2 separate regions of the Homo sapiens genome follow, and region 2 is linked to region 1. Evidence: promoter capture Hi-C in 16 types of primary human blood cells and fetal thymus (Javierre and others, 2016). All regions are on one chromosome and are shown on one strand. Each heading gives the region's core, a stretch centred on a gene start or on the middle of the fragment in contact. The rest is flanking DNA. Distances are from core to core; before and after follow the strand shown.

What was found. The method cuts DNA at HindIII sites, captures the fragments that hold promoters and counts their contacts. A CHiCAGO score of 5 or more calls a contact.
Region 2: the fragment with the promoter of EPAS1 here is called in contact with the fragment with the promoter of PPM1B in region 1 in 1 of 17 cell types (neutrophils); the score reaches 7.7 in neutrophils.

What each region holds. Positions count from the first base shown.
Region 1 is chr2:44,164,612-44,172,075 of GRCh38, forward strand. PPM1B (protein phosphatase, Mg2+/Mn2+ dependent 1B) reads left to right here and starts at 4,264. Exons shown (of 6, transcript NM_002706.6): 1 at 4,264-4,663. It overlaps PPM1B-DT (PPM1B divergent transcript), which reads right to left and starts at 4,181. Exons shown (of 2, transcript XR_940034.3): 1 at 2,687-4,181. It also overlaps the pseudogene PDSS1P2. RefSeq lists silencers at 3,965-4,294, 4,615-4,824. The HindIII fragment of the contact is 4,313 bases long and covers 2,561-6,873 here.
Region 2 is chr2:46,293,676-46,301,139 of GRCh38, forward strand. It overlaps EPAS1 (endothelial PAS domain protein 1), which reads left to right and starts at 3,732. Exons shown (of 16, transcript NM_001430.5): 1 at 3,732-4,262. The coding sequence starts at 4,237. RefSeq lists silencers at 3,186-3,765, 3,996-4,325. The HindIII fragment of the contact is 15,577 bases long and covers 1-7,464 here.

The sequences.
Region 1 (7,464 bases), core at 3,014-5,513:
AGTGCTGGGATTACAGGCATGAGCCACCACGCCCAGCCTATGCTTCTTTATTAATGCATGAAATAACAAGATCTAGTGATGAGTATAATAATTATAATAATTTCAAAAGAGTGGTGAGTATAAATGACATCTAAAGAGATTGTGATGCTTGGTAAAGACTGGGAATCTCTGCTCTAAGCAACTTGTGACCTCGCAGTTCCCTGATTGTTTGGGCTCCCTTGCAGCTAGGGGTGATCATGTGATTTCCTCACCCAACTTTTTCTACATTACATTTAATATTGTTTTTATTTAAAACTATATATTGGGGAATGATTTGCATTACTAAGAGACTCTAAAACTCTTCATGTGGCTCTGGAGAAAGATGTTACGATTCCCATTTTGCAGAACAAACCAAGGCTCAGATAGCTTAGTTACTAGCTCAAGTCACACAGCTAGTTCGTAGCAGAGCACATTATGATGGTACTCAGGGTTTATGACACATTATGTTTATGATGGTAAACAGCAGTTTTCAAAGTTGTGACTCTTGTTGGGCTTTCTTTAATGGTTTAGTATTTTAAGCAAATAAAGCATACAACAAAGTTAACCTTCAAATCTGTTCTGGGGTGTCTCCATACTTTTTTTTTTTTTGCTCTTGGTGATTGAAAGTATGAATGATATGGAATTATCAGCCCACCTAAATGACTGAGCTTTGTATTTGTTTTTGGGTCAACCAAGGGAAGGTGAGAAGGAAGTCAAGCAAGCCAAGAAACTGTTCTCATGCCTTTCTGTAGTTGCTTGTATTCACAGGACAAGGGTCCCTAAATGTCTTCAGTTTTTTATCCTTAGCATGGTTCCCATTTTAGAAGCTGAGGTCTCAGACTCCCTTCTGCTTACATAAGGGGTGTCAGGCAATGGAGTGTGATTAAAGAAAATTTAATTTTTTTATAAGTCACTTCAATAATACTTCCTGCGGACTGTATGATCTCACGCTGATAATAAAGGGGACAGTGGAAATGTGAGATATACATATGTTCTCCCAACATGCAAAAGTGAGGAAATTAATTTACTTTACATCTGCCTCCATTATCCTGTGCCAGAGGGTCTCAAACATTGATGCGCATAAAAATCATCTGCAGGTCAGGTGCGGTGGCTCACGCCTGTAATCCCAGCACTTTGGGAGGCTGAGGCGGGAGGATCACTTGAGGTCAGGAGTTTGTGACCAGCCTGACCAACATGGTGAAACCCCGTCTCTACTAAAAATACAAAAATTAGCCAGGCGTGGTGGTGGGTGCCTGCAATCCCAGCTACTCGGGAGGCTGAGGCAGGAGAATCACTTGAACCTGGGAGGCGGAGGTTGCACTGAACCGAGATTGCACTACTGCACTCCAGCCTGGGCGTCAGAGTGAGACTCCGTCTCAAAAAAAAAAAAAAAAAAATCATCTGGGGAGCTATTTTAAAATTCACCTTTCTGAGCCTTGTCCCCAGAGTCCCTGATTTGTAGGCATGAGTGGACCTGGGAATCTCTATCCCAGAATCCCAGATGATTCGGATGCTGGTGGTCTATTCACCATGCTGTAAGAAACACCATTCTCACACAAACTTGATGAGTAGGTTTTAAAAATCTGAATTGCAGAGGCGGAGCCGCCACCCTGCCGCGACTTTCAGTCTCCGACCATGGCCTCACGCTGGTGGCGGTGTGCCCGGCTCCCCCGGCCTTGCAGGGCCTCCAGGGCCGCGCGCCGCTGCCGGCGCCCGCGCTCAGGCTCATAGGCGGAAGGGATTCGGCTTGTCTCAGATACCCTATTTTAGTCTTGTGAAGCGCTTAACATCTGCCTGTCCAAATGTATACAGTATATCACGGTTTTATCACACAACCCCGGACAGTAAAACACACAGTGGTGAGAAATATACAGATCACCGATCCTTTCAAATTCGGTTGCAGAGACTTGAAAGGTCTGTATGAGGACATTAGAAAGGAACTGCTCATATCAACAACAGAACTTCAGGAAATGTCTGAGTACTACTTTGATGGAAAAGGAAAAGCCTTTCGACCAATTATTGGGGTGCTAATGGCCCGAGCATGTAATATCCATCATAACAACTCCCGATCCGATGTCCAATTTTCACAAGCTGATTGCTGAGAAGGTTCTAGGCGGCGTCTGTTAAAAAGCATTGCTGTCTGTTAATTTGACATGTGCAAGCCAGCCACCGCGCCATAGCCTTAATTGCAGAAATGATCCACACTGCTAGTCTGGTTCACGATGACGTTATTGACGATACAAGTTCTCGAAGAGGAAAACACACAGTTAATAAGATCTGGGGTGAAAAGAAGATACGGTTTTTTGGTTTTTTAAAATCTCTCTTACCGAATCACATGCTTTTTGGACCGCGTTTGCTTTTTCAGATTTGTCTTATTAAAAAGTAAAATATGCTTGCTCAAAAAACAAAAAAACCCGAATTGCAATTAAGTCTTTGTTTCTGCCGTCCTTATGACGGCCTGGACAATTGTCCTATTACTAAATTTGCCCTTTTCTATAAAACATTGACAGCCCCTAACCTGAATAGCACTCTGTTGGGTCTAAGCTTAAATTGTCTGCCCAAACCATTTTACACCAAAGTAGGAAATAGGTTTAAGTTCTTTTAGGACATTCGGATTAAAAAAAAAATATATATATATATATATATCCTAAGGTAAGTATTAGAATACCTCTATTACACTTTTGTTTCTCGTTTGGAGAATTAACATGGCAGCATCGTCTAATTTGATAGCTGGAGGAGTCATGTCCACTTTCCCCATCGGCCTGTTAAACCCCTATCATTCATTCTTGACTCATCCTGTGTCTTTGTGAAGCCTTTCTTGGTAAACCTATGCACAAGGAAGACCCTTTATGTCGTCACCAGCCCTTGTGCATGTTTCAATTGTAGTACCTATCATCTTGTACTGCGATTGCCTAATTTATTTTTGTATCTCCAGTTCTACATACAGTACCTGGCAAACAGTAGGCGCTCAATAACTGCGAAATGAACAAGTCCATGTCAAGAGACTAGGCTGGGAGTTTTAATATCAATGCCGACTGAGAAACAAAATACGGAAATGTCAAGGGCTGGTATAAAAATAATCTCTAATAGCACAAAATCCTCCTGAAGGGAACACCTGTCCCACTTTCTCACGTTGCTTTCCAGGTTCTTCCGACACCCCAATTTCCCGCCCACTCTTCTCCCTCCGGGGTACAGGTCAGGCAGGTATCCCAGCTCGGCGGCTCTGATAGGTCGGCGATGATTTCATTGTTAGGGAACATCCGGGCCTTTCCCCTCCCCGCAACACCTCCCCAGAGCCCGGCCTTCCCAGTTTCCCACTCTCGCCTGCGCCCCACCCGCGGCTGAAGCAAAACAACCGCCTCTCCCCTGCCCACTTCTTGTCCTCGTCTGAGTCGTCCCTTCCCGTCTCCACGCCGAAGAGAGGCGTTTAGATCCTCCAATGAGGGCCTAGGAGGACTTTCTTAGCCAATCAGTAGCCAAGCCCCTGCAATTCCGGGTGGGACCAGGCGTCCACACCTATAGCTGGACTGCTCGTTGGTCCCTTATGGCGCTTCTTTTACGCGAGGCTTAGAGGTCAAATACAAGGGGGCACGGTCCTCACAGAACGGAAAGGATCCGTACAGACTCTCCGGGTTTGACCGTTTTCTAGGACGAACCAATCGCTTTCCAGATACTTCCCCGCCTTTTGCGCGTTCATTTGAAAAAAGCCGGTGTGACGGACTTGGAAATTGGCTCAGTGACTGACCCGCAAGAAAGCCAGTGACTGGGGGTTCGGATCACGAGTTGGACCAATAAGAAAAGACAATCGCTGGGGCCGGGGCTTTGCTAGGAGGAGCGCAGGTGGGCGTTATTTGATTGACGGAGGGCTCTACTTATGGCTGGTAGCGGGGGCTGGTCCCTGACGTTCGGGAGGTAGGACCTAGCGGAGGCGGGGCCGAATAAAGTAAATGGTAATAAAGGGTTGGGTCTCACTTAGTGGGCGGTGTTTGATGGACAGCTGACCTTGCCTATTGAAAGTAGCCACTGATGCCCAATGGGAAATTAGAAACCCAGAGGCGGGGCCGGGTGGGCGGGGTAAACGAAGTACGGAGGTGCCGAGGGAGCAGCACGGGGAGGGGGAGCGGTGATTGACAAGACTCCCAGCAAACCGGGGGCCGTGAGAGGGCGCGCGGCATCCCAGTGGGTGGCAGCTGGAGGCGGGGCACCCTGAGGGGCGGGGAAGGACTAGGGTGCGGGGAGGGGGTTGCAAAAGGAGCCGAGCGGCTTCTGCTCAATGGCGGAAAAGCCGCCGGTGCTCTGACGGCCTCGTTCCCCTAGCAGTTGCGGGGGAGTTTCCTGCCGGCGCGGCTGGAGTCTCTGATTCTCAGGGTTCGGTGGTTGGAAGATGCTCCAGAGAGACGAGGCTGCGGCGGAGGAGGTGGCGGCGGCCGAATCGGCAACGGCGCTAGGGTGGAGAGAAGGCGGCATCGGCGGCGGCGGCGGCGTGAGGGGCCGGGCGGTGTAAACAGCCCCGGAGGCGGCGGTCGAGACCCCGAGGGGGAAGCGGCGGCTGAGTCAGGGTCGCGCCTCCGTTGGAAACTTGGGCTGAGTACCGCGGCGGGCGCGAGCGAGGCGCCCTAGACATCTTCTCCCTCCCTTGCCTCAGGTAAGGCCGCCCGGCACCCCGCCGGAGGGGAAGCGGCTGACCGGCCGCGCCGCCGAGGCCCCGGGCCCTGGGCAGGTTTTCGCGGTGCTGCCGAGCCGCGGCCGGGGCCTCTGTCCTTCCGAATCCTCGCTGCTTTCCCTGCTGCCGCGGAGCCTAGGCAGGGGAACGCCGGGCCTGGCTCTCGGGTATAGGCCCCTTCCCCGGCCGCCGCCTCCGCTGGGCTGAGGTCTGGGAGAGGCGCAGGGAGAGAATGGGAGTTTGCTGGAACGCCTGGAAGCTGACTGATTCTCTCTTCCCTCCGCTTCAGTCTGCAAGCATCTCTTTCACACGAAAGCACTGGGGCTACCCCAAGCCTTGGCGCTTCTCTTCCTGGTGCATGCCCTGTTTGAAAACACTATCTTTTACCATTCGTTTCCTCATCAGCTTCTGCCCTACTCTGCGCTCCACTTCACTTCCTTGTTAAATCGTCTTTCTCTGCTGTCTATGCGTTCTACCCTCGCCTTCCCTCCTTAGTGGCTTTAAATTGTGTGTTTCTCTTTTCTTCGTACCCCGGCATCTCTTGCCTGTCTTCCCTAGCACCATCCTTTTCGGATGTCATTCCTAACAGTGAAGTTCTTAATTGAAACTGCCACTTATTGTCAGTACCCCAAATCTACCGGAGCCCCATTAAGAGTATAGACTGACTAGCCATATGTGGTAAATCAGTTTTTCATAGTTTAAGCCTAACAACCTTGAAAAAATTGTATTATTAAACGTAAAGTGTGAAAATAACACCGAAAATAATTTTTTAAATGAAGGACTCAGTGAGTGTTGGAAATAGTTATTTCTTCATTTTTTAAACTTGCATGACCTCTCATATCAGATTTAGCAGATCTGGGACGTTTGCCCATCTTATTCGGCAAAAAAAGTGCTTCTTAGGCGTTTGATAGCAGCCCAAATTCATCAATATTCAATTTCTTCTAAGAACAACTTGAAAACTTTTTTAAAAAGAGACGTTAATAACTGGGAAGTTGTTTTGATAGTCACAGTTAAAGAGCTTTTAAAATAGGCTCCACATGTTTAATGTATCAAAATAAAGTTGGCAGGCATGTTGTAAAAGGATTATTTAGGAATTTGAGTAGTCTTAGTGTTATGTAGCTATTTTAGGAAAAACATTCTTTTTCTGTTAACAAACGTTTACAACTACGGTGATGTGAGAATTACTGAGGCTTACTGTGGGATTAACACAGGAACTGTCTTTATTTGAGCTACTGCATGGATGAAGAAGTGGTAAATTGTTCAGAGTAGACAGTGTAAGTCACAGTATGTTCTAGGAGATGGAGAAACATGCCATGGACGCTGAATGTTAATAGATGTTATTTCATTTACTTTCTCTGTTGTGCAATAGCAAAGTTCCTATTGTTGGCCTACTTTTAAATGGGGCATTTCTAAGTAAATAGTGAGACAAGTTATTCTAATTATTATGATAGTCTTTTCCAAGTGTACAGGCCTTTTAAAAATATAGTTGAAGTAATGGTAATTTTTTAAGGAAATGTTTTTGTAGGTCTGCCAAATGGACAGTGTGTTGTTCTAATCGAAATTTTAAAATTAAGTATTTAGAACAGAATATTTTAGTCCACACATTTTCAGGGATAATCTTTATTTTGTGCTTCTTCTCTCAATGCCTTCTTTGTCTTTTTTTTTGTCTTAATGGTTGTTGTGTTTTCGCCTCTTCATTTGTTTTTGCTCTCATGAAGTCTTACAACAGTTTCTGCAGTGGTTCTTTTTGTTGCTGTATATTAGCACGAGTATTTTTATTTGAGCTTTCATACTGTAAGATTTCCCCAGTTTCTAGTACATTATCCTCTGGATTTGTTGAAGTGATTGTTCTCTTTGAAGTGACCAGCAGAGCTTTCAACACCGTTTTCTTACACTGGGTGTCTGATTTCTGTGAAGACTCTAGGAATAGGTGAAAGGCCTTTCAATTTAGTCATGTCAGTAAATACTGTTTTATGTTAGTAATTCACCTAATTACTAAATTCCTTAAGATTACATCATCTGAAGGAATAGTGTAGTGTCCAAGTAACTGTGCTTCTAAGAACAGCTGATTCACAGGTTGACAGGGTCAGAAAAAGTGGCTCTTGTTGAAAGTTATCTTTTCTATAACAAACATTTTTTATGGAATCTTTTGAATTAAAATATGATGCTGATTATGTCTTGGCAGTCTTGGAAGCTTAGAATTGGCCACGGTATCACTTAGTGATTGTGGTGATTCATTAAAAAGAGGCTATATAGGCCAGGTGCGGTGGCTCATGCCTGTAATCTCAGCACTTTGGGAGGCTGAGGCGTGTGGATCACTTGAGGTTAGGAGTTCATGACCAGCCTGGCCAACATGGTGAAACACCATCTCTACTGAAAATACAAAAATTAGCCAGGTGCGGTGGCGCGTGCTTGTAATCCCAGCTACTCAGGAGGATGAGGCAGGAGAATCACTTGGACTCACGAGGTGGAGGTTGCAGTGAGCCGAGATTGTGCCACTGCACTCTAGCCTGGGTGCCAGAGTAAGACTCTGTCTCAAAAAAAAAAAAAAAAAAAAAAAGCTGTATTTCATGAATATTTTTATATGTAACTATTTTAAAGTATTTTGTGACATTACCTAGCATAGAAAGTAGTTAAGTAGTATAATTCTAACTCTCGCTTTTAAAAATGCAACATACAGTATTTTATATTTTCTGTGAAATATGCCTTTCACAATTCACTGATTTTAGTAAAAATTAGCAAACAAATAACTGGTGGCATCAGAATAATAAAAGTTTGTTTAA
Region 2 (7,464 bases), core at 2,482-4,981, 2.1 Mb after region 1:
AAGGAGTGACTCAGGCAAGGCTTTTCATAGAGAAAGAGTCTCTGCCAGCTTGTCCTCTCTCCCATCTCTGCTCCTTACCTCCCCTGCTCTCTCCACCCCGAAACCAACTAAATAGCCAGACAAGGGTCAGATGGGTATTACGTGAGATAAGGCATGTGGCAGGACAGAGGCCAGTGTACTTGCATGACTCTTAAAGGCCTCTTTTGCCTCACCCTGGTCCCAACTCCAATATGTGACAATGCATTGGAAGTTGTAAGGTACTAATGAGATAGCCCATCCTTCCAAGAGCTGTTCCTGTTAGATCCCATCCATTCCAACCTAATTTCCAACTGCATCCTGGAACATACTGTTACTTCGATGGGAGTACTGAGGCCATCTTTCTTCCACCAGCCCACTGCATCCCAGGTGCCTGCTCTCTGCCAGGTTTGTAAGTTCACACTTTATCTCTATCCCATCCTCCTGAGGGCACACCCTACAAAGAAAAGAGGAAGCAAGAGAATCAGATTTGTCCCTTGTCAAAACAAATAGGTGTTTCACTGGTGCCACAGCTTTTGTTCCCAAACCATCCAATACAGGGTTGGGGGGCAGGTAGGGAGATTTGCTGGGAGGTGGGCAGTTTGCTCCTATTTTAAGCAGCTTGGGAGCTTTGCCTACCGGTGTCCTCTGCTGCCCTCTGTGGCCACAACATCAGTGTCTCTAAAGACACCCCTCTGAATCCGGGGACCCAGCTCCCCATCCCCCACTCACTGCCCCAGCATCACCTTTCAAAGTTTTTCTCCTCTAGTTCTCCACAGGCTCTAAAAAGTAAAATTGGATGCACCCTAGCCACAGCCTGCATCTGGTTTACACTCTCAGCTCCTTCCTGCAAAGGTTATTGAGCTGAGTCCTGGAAGAAATCTCAGGCCACCCGGCTCTGCTCTAAGCAAGGCTGGGTGCAACCCTTTTGAGAGTTATTATAATGAGTTTTTGGTGTATCTCAGACACTGCCAAAATCCCGGACTTGGCAAGGTGCGGTGGCTTATGCGTATAATCCCAGCACTCTGGGAAGCCCAGGTGGGTGGATCACATGAGGCCAGGAGTTCCAGACCAGCCTGGCCAACATGGCAAAACTCCATCTCTACTAAAAATACAAAAATTAGCCGGGCATGGTGGTGCACATCTGTAGTCCTAGCTACTTGGGAGGCTGAGGCAGGGGAATAGCTTGAACCCGGGACGTGGAGGTTGCAGTGCGCCAAGATCGTGCCACTCCGCTCCAACCTGCGCAACAGAGTGAGATTGTCTAAAGAAAAAAAAAAAATCCCAGACTCAATGCCAGCTGTTTGTGTTAGCCTGGGGATCCTTCACTTATAGGGTGCAGTCTGGCCAAGAGGAAGGAGCTATATAACATGGTTGATGGAATTTCTAACATTTAAGCTCAGGGGTACATGTGCAGGATGTGCAGGTTTGTTACATAGGTAAATGTGTACCATGGTGGTCCACTGCACAGATCATCCCATCACCTAGGTATTAAGCCCAGCATCCGTTAGCTATTGTTCCTGATGCTCTCCCTCCTCCCACCCCTCACCCTCTGACACGCCCCAGTCTGTGCTGTTCCTCCCATGTGTCCATGTCTTCTTAGGTTGATGTGGTCTTGAGTGACCCCTCCTTGCCTTTCCTCTTTAAAAACAAGATCTAAAAGGCTATGTTCTCTATGGGTTGGAGGTGTTGCCTCGATCTGTCAAGCACAGTCCAGGACTCAGAGGCTGTTGTGGTGAACTACTGTAGGCACCTGGAAGCCACCAAGGTGCCCTTTTCCCGCACTCTAGTCCCAAGTGAGGGAAATAAGCCTATGGTTAAGGGAGAACTATCTACCAATTTGAACTCATTAAAATACATAAATGTGTCCACTAGAAATGGCTGGCTGGAGAAGCCCAGTACCAAATCACCCCGTTCCTGAAACCCACCAGCCCCATGAAATAGTTCGCTAGAGAGAGATTTGCAATCTTTGAATTCGTTGACTATCAACCTGTATAGGTGCTCCGTGCCCCGAGATCTGAGAAAATGACAAAATACGTCTACTTCCCGGCCGGGCACAGTGACTCACGCCTGTAATCCCAATACTTTGAGAGGCCAAGTTGGGCAGATCACTTGAGGTCAGGAGTTTGAGACCAGCCTGGCCAACATGGTAAAACTCCCGTCTCTACTAAAAATACAAAAATTAGCTGAGGGTGGTGGTGGGCGCCTTTAATTCCAGTTACTCCGGAGGCTGAGCCACAAGAATCGCGGGAAGCGGAGGTTGCAGTGAGTCGAGATGGGGCCACAGCACTCCAGCCTGGGCGACAGAGTGGGACTCAGTCTCAAAAAAAAAAAAAAAGTATTTCCCAATTCTTCGTCAGTTTTTGCCCTCTCCCCACTTCGCCTTCTCCAGGCTCCTGAAAAGTATCTCCCCCAACCCTTTCTGTGTACACGGGGAAAACACGTGTTCATTTTTATTATGGCGCTGAAACCTACCCTTCTCTTCAAATCGCTTCTGTAGATCGTTCTAGTATAAAATGTGGCAAGAGGCTAAAGGGAGAGATATAGACCAGTTCTTTGGCCCTCGCTTTCCAACTTCAAGTTACACCTGTGAAACTCATGGGTCCTTCCACAGCCTTCAAAAACTAAGGGCGTCCCCTGTCCTCTCCCCAGATGTCCCTTCCCCATCGCCGGTAGCGAGTGGGAGACAGCTCAGCGCGGGGCAGGGGAGCACTGGGCCCGGAGATGGAAGGCAGCGTCAAAAGCGCCGCTGGAAAATCCCTGAGCGCTAACCGTTGCCTGTGTGAGCCCTTAAATCTACAAATTTCCAACACCTGTAGCCTTTGGGTTTCCCAGGACTTCCATCGACCCTGGCGGCAGAGAGGGCAGGCCTGAGATGCAGTGACTTGAGGGCACATGGCCAACTCTTGTCACTCCAAGATCACACTGGGGAACCAGACTGACTTCTCCAATTCTGAACTCGCCCCGGCCTCGGGCGGCTCAAAGGGCCTCCTCTGCCGCATCCCCGCCAAAACCAAACCGCCTGGCACAAGCCGGTAAGCAACCACCCTGCTGGGAGAGGGAAGGAAGAGTAGGCGCAGCCCTAGATCAATTTCCTTGCACTGCTTCTCCCAGACGGTCAAGTCAGCTGCGTCCCACCGAAAAGGGCGCATCGCCCACGCCCGAAACGCAGCCGCTGGGGGCCGAGAAATTATCCCCACCTGGCCCGAGGGCCAGGGACGCAGGAGCGCAGCAGCGTGGAGGGGCTCCGCGCTGGCCCGGCGCTGCCCGCGGTCCTGCCCTCGTTCCAAGGGCACGGCGCCGGTACGAGGACACCGACGCTGTGGCGCAACTGCCGTCCCCCGCAGCAATCCCGGAGCCCGGCTCCCGGCCGCCCCTCGGCCCTGCGCAGGCTGCCTCTCCCCGACGCGGAGTCCCACCCCGCTACCCGCCGCCCAGACGACCTCATAAACAAGTCCTCGAAGTGCGGAGGCAGGAGGCGGGGCGCAGCGCGGGGGCAGGAGGCGGGCCAGGGTCAGGGCAGAGGCTGCGGCCGCGCGTCCCCATTGGCCGGGACGCAGTGAGCCGCCCGGAGCTCGGCGCGGGCGGGGCCTGCCGGCGCGTGCCCGCCCACACACCCGCGCCGGTGCCCGCCCCCCGCCCTCCGCGCCCGCCCCGTGCCCGCCCCAAGCCGGCCGACGGAGTTTTTAAAGTGGGCTGCCGGCCGCGGGAGCTTTACACTCGCGAGCGGACCGCCACACGGGTCCGGTGCCCGCTGCGCTTCCGCCCCAGCGCTCCTGAGGCGGCCGTACAATCCTCGGCAGTGTCCTGAGACTGTATGGTCAGCTCAGCCCGGCCTCCGACTCCTTCCGACTCCCAGCATTCGAGCCACTTTTTTTTTTCTTTGAAAACTCAGAAAAGTGACTCCTTTTCCAGGGAAAAAGGAACTTGGGTTCCCTTCTCTCCGTCCTCTTTTCGGGTCTGACAGCCTCCACCCACTCCTTCCCCGGACCCCGCCTCCGCGCGCAGGTTCCTCCCAGTCACCTTTCTCCACCCCCGCCCCCGCACCTAGCCCGCCGCGCGCCACCTTCCACCTGACTGCGCGGGGCGCTCGGGACCTGCGCGCACCTCGGACCTTCACCACCCGCCCGGGCCGCGGGGAGCGGACGAGGGCCACAGCCCCCCACCCGCCAGGGAGCCCAGGTGCTCGGCGTCTGAACGTCTCAAAGGGCCACAGCGACAATGACAGCTGACAAGGAGAAGAAAAGGTAAGCGGGCGTCCGGGCCGATCAGGGGGCCGGTCCGAGGCCAGGGCCGGGCTGCGCGGGGCAGGCGCGACCGAGAGTGGTTGGGAGAAGAGTGCTGAGAGGTCTTCGGAGCTCGAGGCTCGGTTTGGAGGGCTGTGAGGGGGAGAGCATGTGCCCGGTTTGGGGGCGCGGATCAGCAGCTTTGCAGTGGAGACTTCTGCGGCTCGGAGGAGTCGGGGATTTGCGCGCACGGCGAGGCCAGGAGGCCGAGGGAGATGGCCTGGAGGTCGGAGGTGCTTCCGCGGTGCCTTTGAAAATCTCCCAGCCGCCCCGCAGCAGATTACCGTGGCCACCGGCGCTTGGAAATGTTTGTGGGTGCATGTCCTCGACTTTCTCTGGTCTCTCATTTTGGGGCAGCATCCACGTCTCTATTTTTCTCTGGATTCGCGGAGTCCTTCCAAATGCGCTCCTGTGCCCGCGCCGCGGCCCAAGTGGGCAAAGGGGGGCGGGAGGCGGAGAGCGGCTCAGGGACACGATCCTACCGAGGAGCCAGGACCCTTCAGAGCGCCCCGCTGCCGGGCTCCAGACCCCACCGAAGGTTGGAGAACCCACTTCCTCGTGCCGCACCTTGACTCTGGGGAGAGTAGGTAGTGAGTGACCTGGATTGCCCTGCGGGGGCAGATGGTTCGGTGTGTAGGAAGCGGACGGCAACACTGGATGTCCCTGGCAGGTCCGGGTGTCTGTCTCCGAAGAGGACAGAGAAGGGCAGCCACGATCTGCCCGCCTGCCCTCGCGAGCCTCTCGGCACTGGGTGAGAGGCAACTCTGGCCATTTCTTGCTGCCCTCTCGCCCTCTCCCGGCCGCTCCCAGTCCAGCCGGGCCCGGCGCTACCCGAGCGAGGGTTCGAGCCCTCTGCGCGGCCGCGCAGAAGCAGGCAGGGCCTCAACTTCTGCAAATGTGTGCGGCTCGCCGCCTGTCCCCTTTCTCCTCCTGTCTCCACCCGTGCGGCCCCAGTGGCCTGGAGCTTCCAGCCCCGCGCTTGGCCGCGGCTTGGCGAGGCTATGCTGCGGGAAGCTGGAATCCAACGCGCGGCCGGCTGAACCGCCTGAGCCGCGGGAAACCAGCGGCGGAGCGGCGGTATAGAGGTGCGAGGATGAGGAGGACCGACTCGCTAAGGGAGGGAGGTGACTGGCCGGGAGGGCTCACTGCCGAGGTTGATTTGCTCTTGTTCCAACTTCCACTACGGGACTGGAGCCAGAAACCGTGTATCCTCCGGTCGAAAGCAGCGGTTCCCACCTCGGGGCACCGATAAGGATTTGATAAACGGGAGCGAATCGCGCCTGTCCTGGCTCGGCGCCCGGGCCCTTCACTGCGGGATCGCTAGGGGAGGGGATTGGGCCCTGCTCCCCTTTCCTGGCCGTAGTCCCCCCTTTCTCGTCACCGTCGCGCCCTCAGACCCAAGACAAGTGAGGGAGCCCTGAGACTGCAGCCGGCACATTCCCAGGGCCCTCGGAGCAGTCCTGGGGTTCCATGTCTTTTGAAGGCAGCAGAGCAAGGAAAAGACTCTTAAGATTCCAGTGCGTTTTGTAAAAACCAATCATAATGCTAATAATGACTGAACCATCGAAAAGCAAAGTTATAGACAGCGCCTGCAGACGCTTTCGGGTCCGGAGCCGGGGAGGGAACTTGTGTATTTTACAACTGCGATGCCTATCGGGAATGTGGCAATCGCCGAGGTGGGGCCTGACAGTAATCTTGACAAATGTGTGAAGTGTCAGCTCCTCCTGCGCTCCTTAGCGCCGGGTTTTGTGCAGTTTTGTACCGTATATACCGAGAAACTTGGGAGCAGGGGAAAAATGATTTCGACACACCCAGCTACAGTACCTGGTTCGTTAGCGGACTGTTGGAAAGAGAGAAGAAGCGGGAATGGGAGCGGGAAGAACGTTGCGTAATTAGACTCCCAATTATTGGCGAGAGCGGCCGCTTTAAGAACCACTGTGGGGACTGCCTGCGAAACGCCTTGGAGGCCGCTGTGTGAGCTGCGGCTCCGGGCTGGTGGCCACGCGAGGGTGTCCGCCCTCTTCGACCTGCCTGGATTTTTGTGCTGCAGAATGGCAGGGCAAACAGCGTGTCCTTCACCATCTAGAGCCCCTTAAGGGGTTGTCCAATTCCTATTGGGCTAATCAGTTTGAGACTCATTTACTTTTCGTGCCTGGGTCTGTTTGCTGGCTGCAGGCTTCTTTAGGGACCAAGATGTAATTAAAATATGTGAACCAATACATTGAAAGTTGGTGTTGTCATGTAAGTGACTGCTGTAGCTTTTCTGAGTGCCTCACAAGGGCGATGTGACAGTGAGGGGGCTCTCTGCTGATGATTCTGCCCACTAGTTCTTACATTTTGTGTTTCTTTGGTTTAGCAGAGCAGTTTCTTCCCCCAAATGCAATATGGGCAGAACATTTGGAATATTCGTTCTAACAATGGCCCGTCAAGAAGTGGGCAGATGATTTTGTCCCAGAATGTTCACACGTCGATAAATATGTTAATGTTTAATAATAAAGAGTTTGCTTTCTAAATGTTAGTTGGCTGGGTGTCCTTGATAGTACCAGTTTTGGTGGTAGTGGGCATTTGCGGTGACATCACAGATGTCAGAAACTGAAGCCTGGTGGGTGGGGGTACTGCACTTTCACTCACCTTTTTGTGCACGCATCTATCAGGAATGCCTGAGTCCTTTCACTGGGAAAAAAATGTGGAAATTCTGGGATTCACGGGGTTTGAGGAGTGGTTCAGGCAAATGTAAATGAGATCCTTGGATAATCAGGGATCAAAGTCCAGTCCCAAAGCCAGACCTAGGTCCAGACACCTTCCCAGAGTGCTTATACAGTAGTGCTCAGTACAGGGCTAGCGTGGAAGGGGAATTGGAGACACCTGGATCTCCAATCTCCCCCTCCTTCTGACAGCTGGACTTAGTTGTTCCTCTTCTAAAATCAAATCAAACTCCATCATTATTCCAACTCTGAAGGGAAAAAATATTGCTGGACAGTTTCTCTCAATTTAAACATATATTTTAAATAAATATTCCCTCCACACTTGATATGTTTCCATTGTATTACCAGCAGCGCAGGATGATACAGAATTGATGTAACACATTGTTGGCTTGAGTATTTAAGTTTTAATTCATACAGTTTTCATGAAGTTCAAAAGAATGCCATCATTTCAAGTTTTT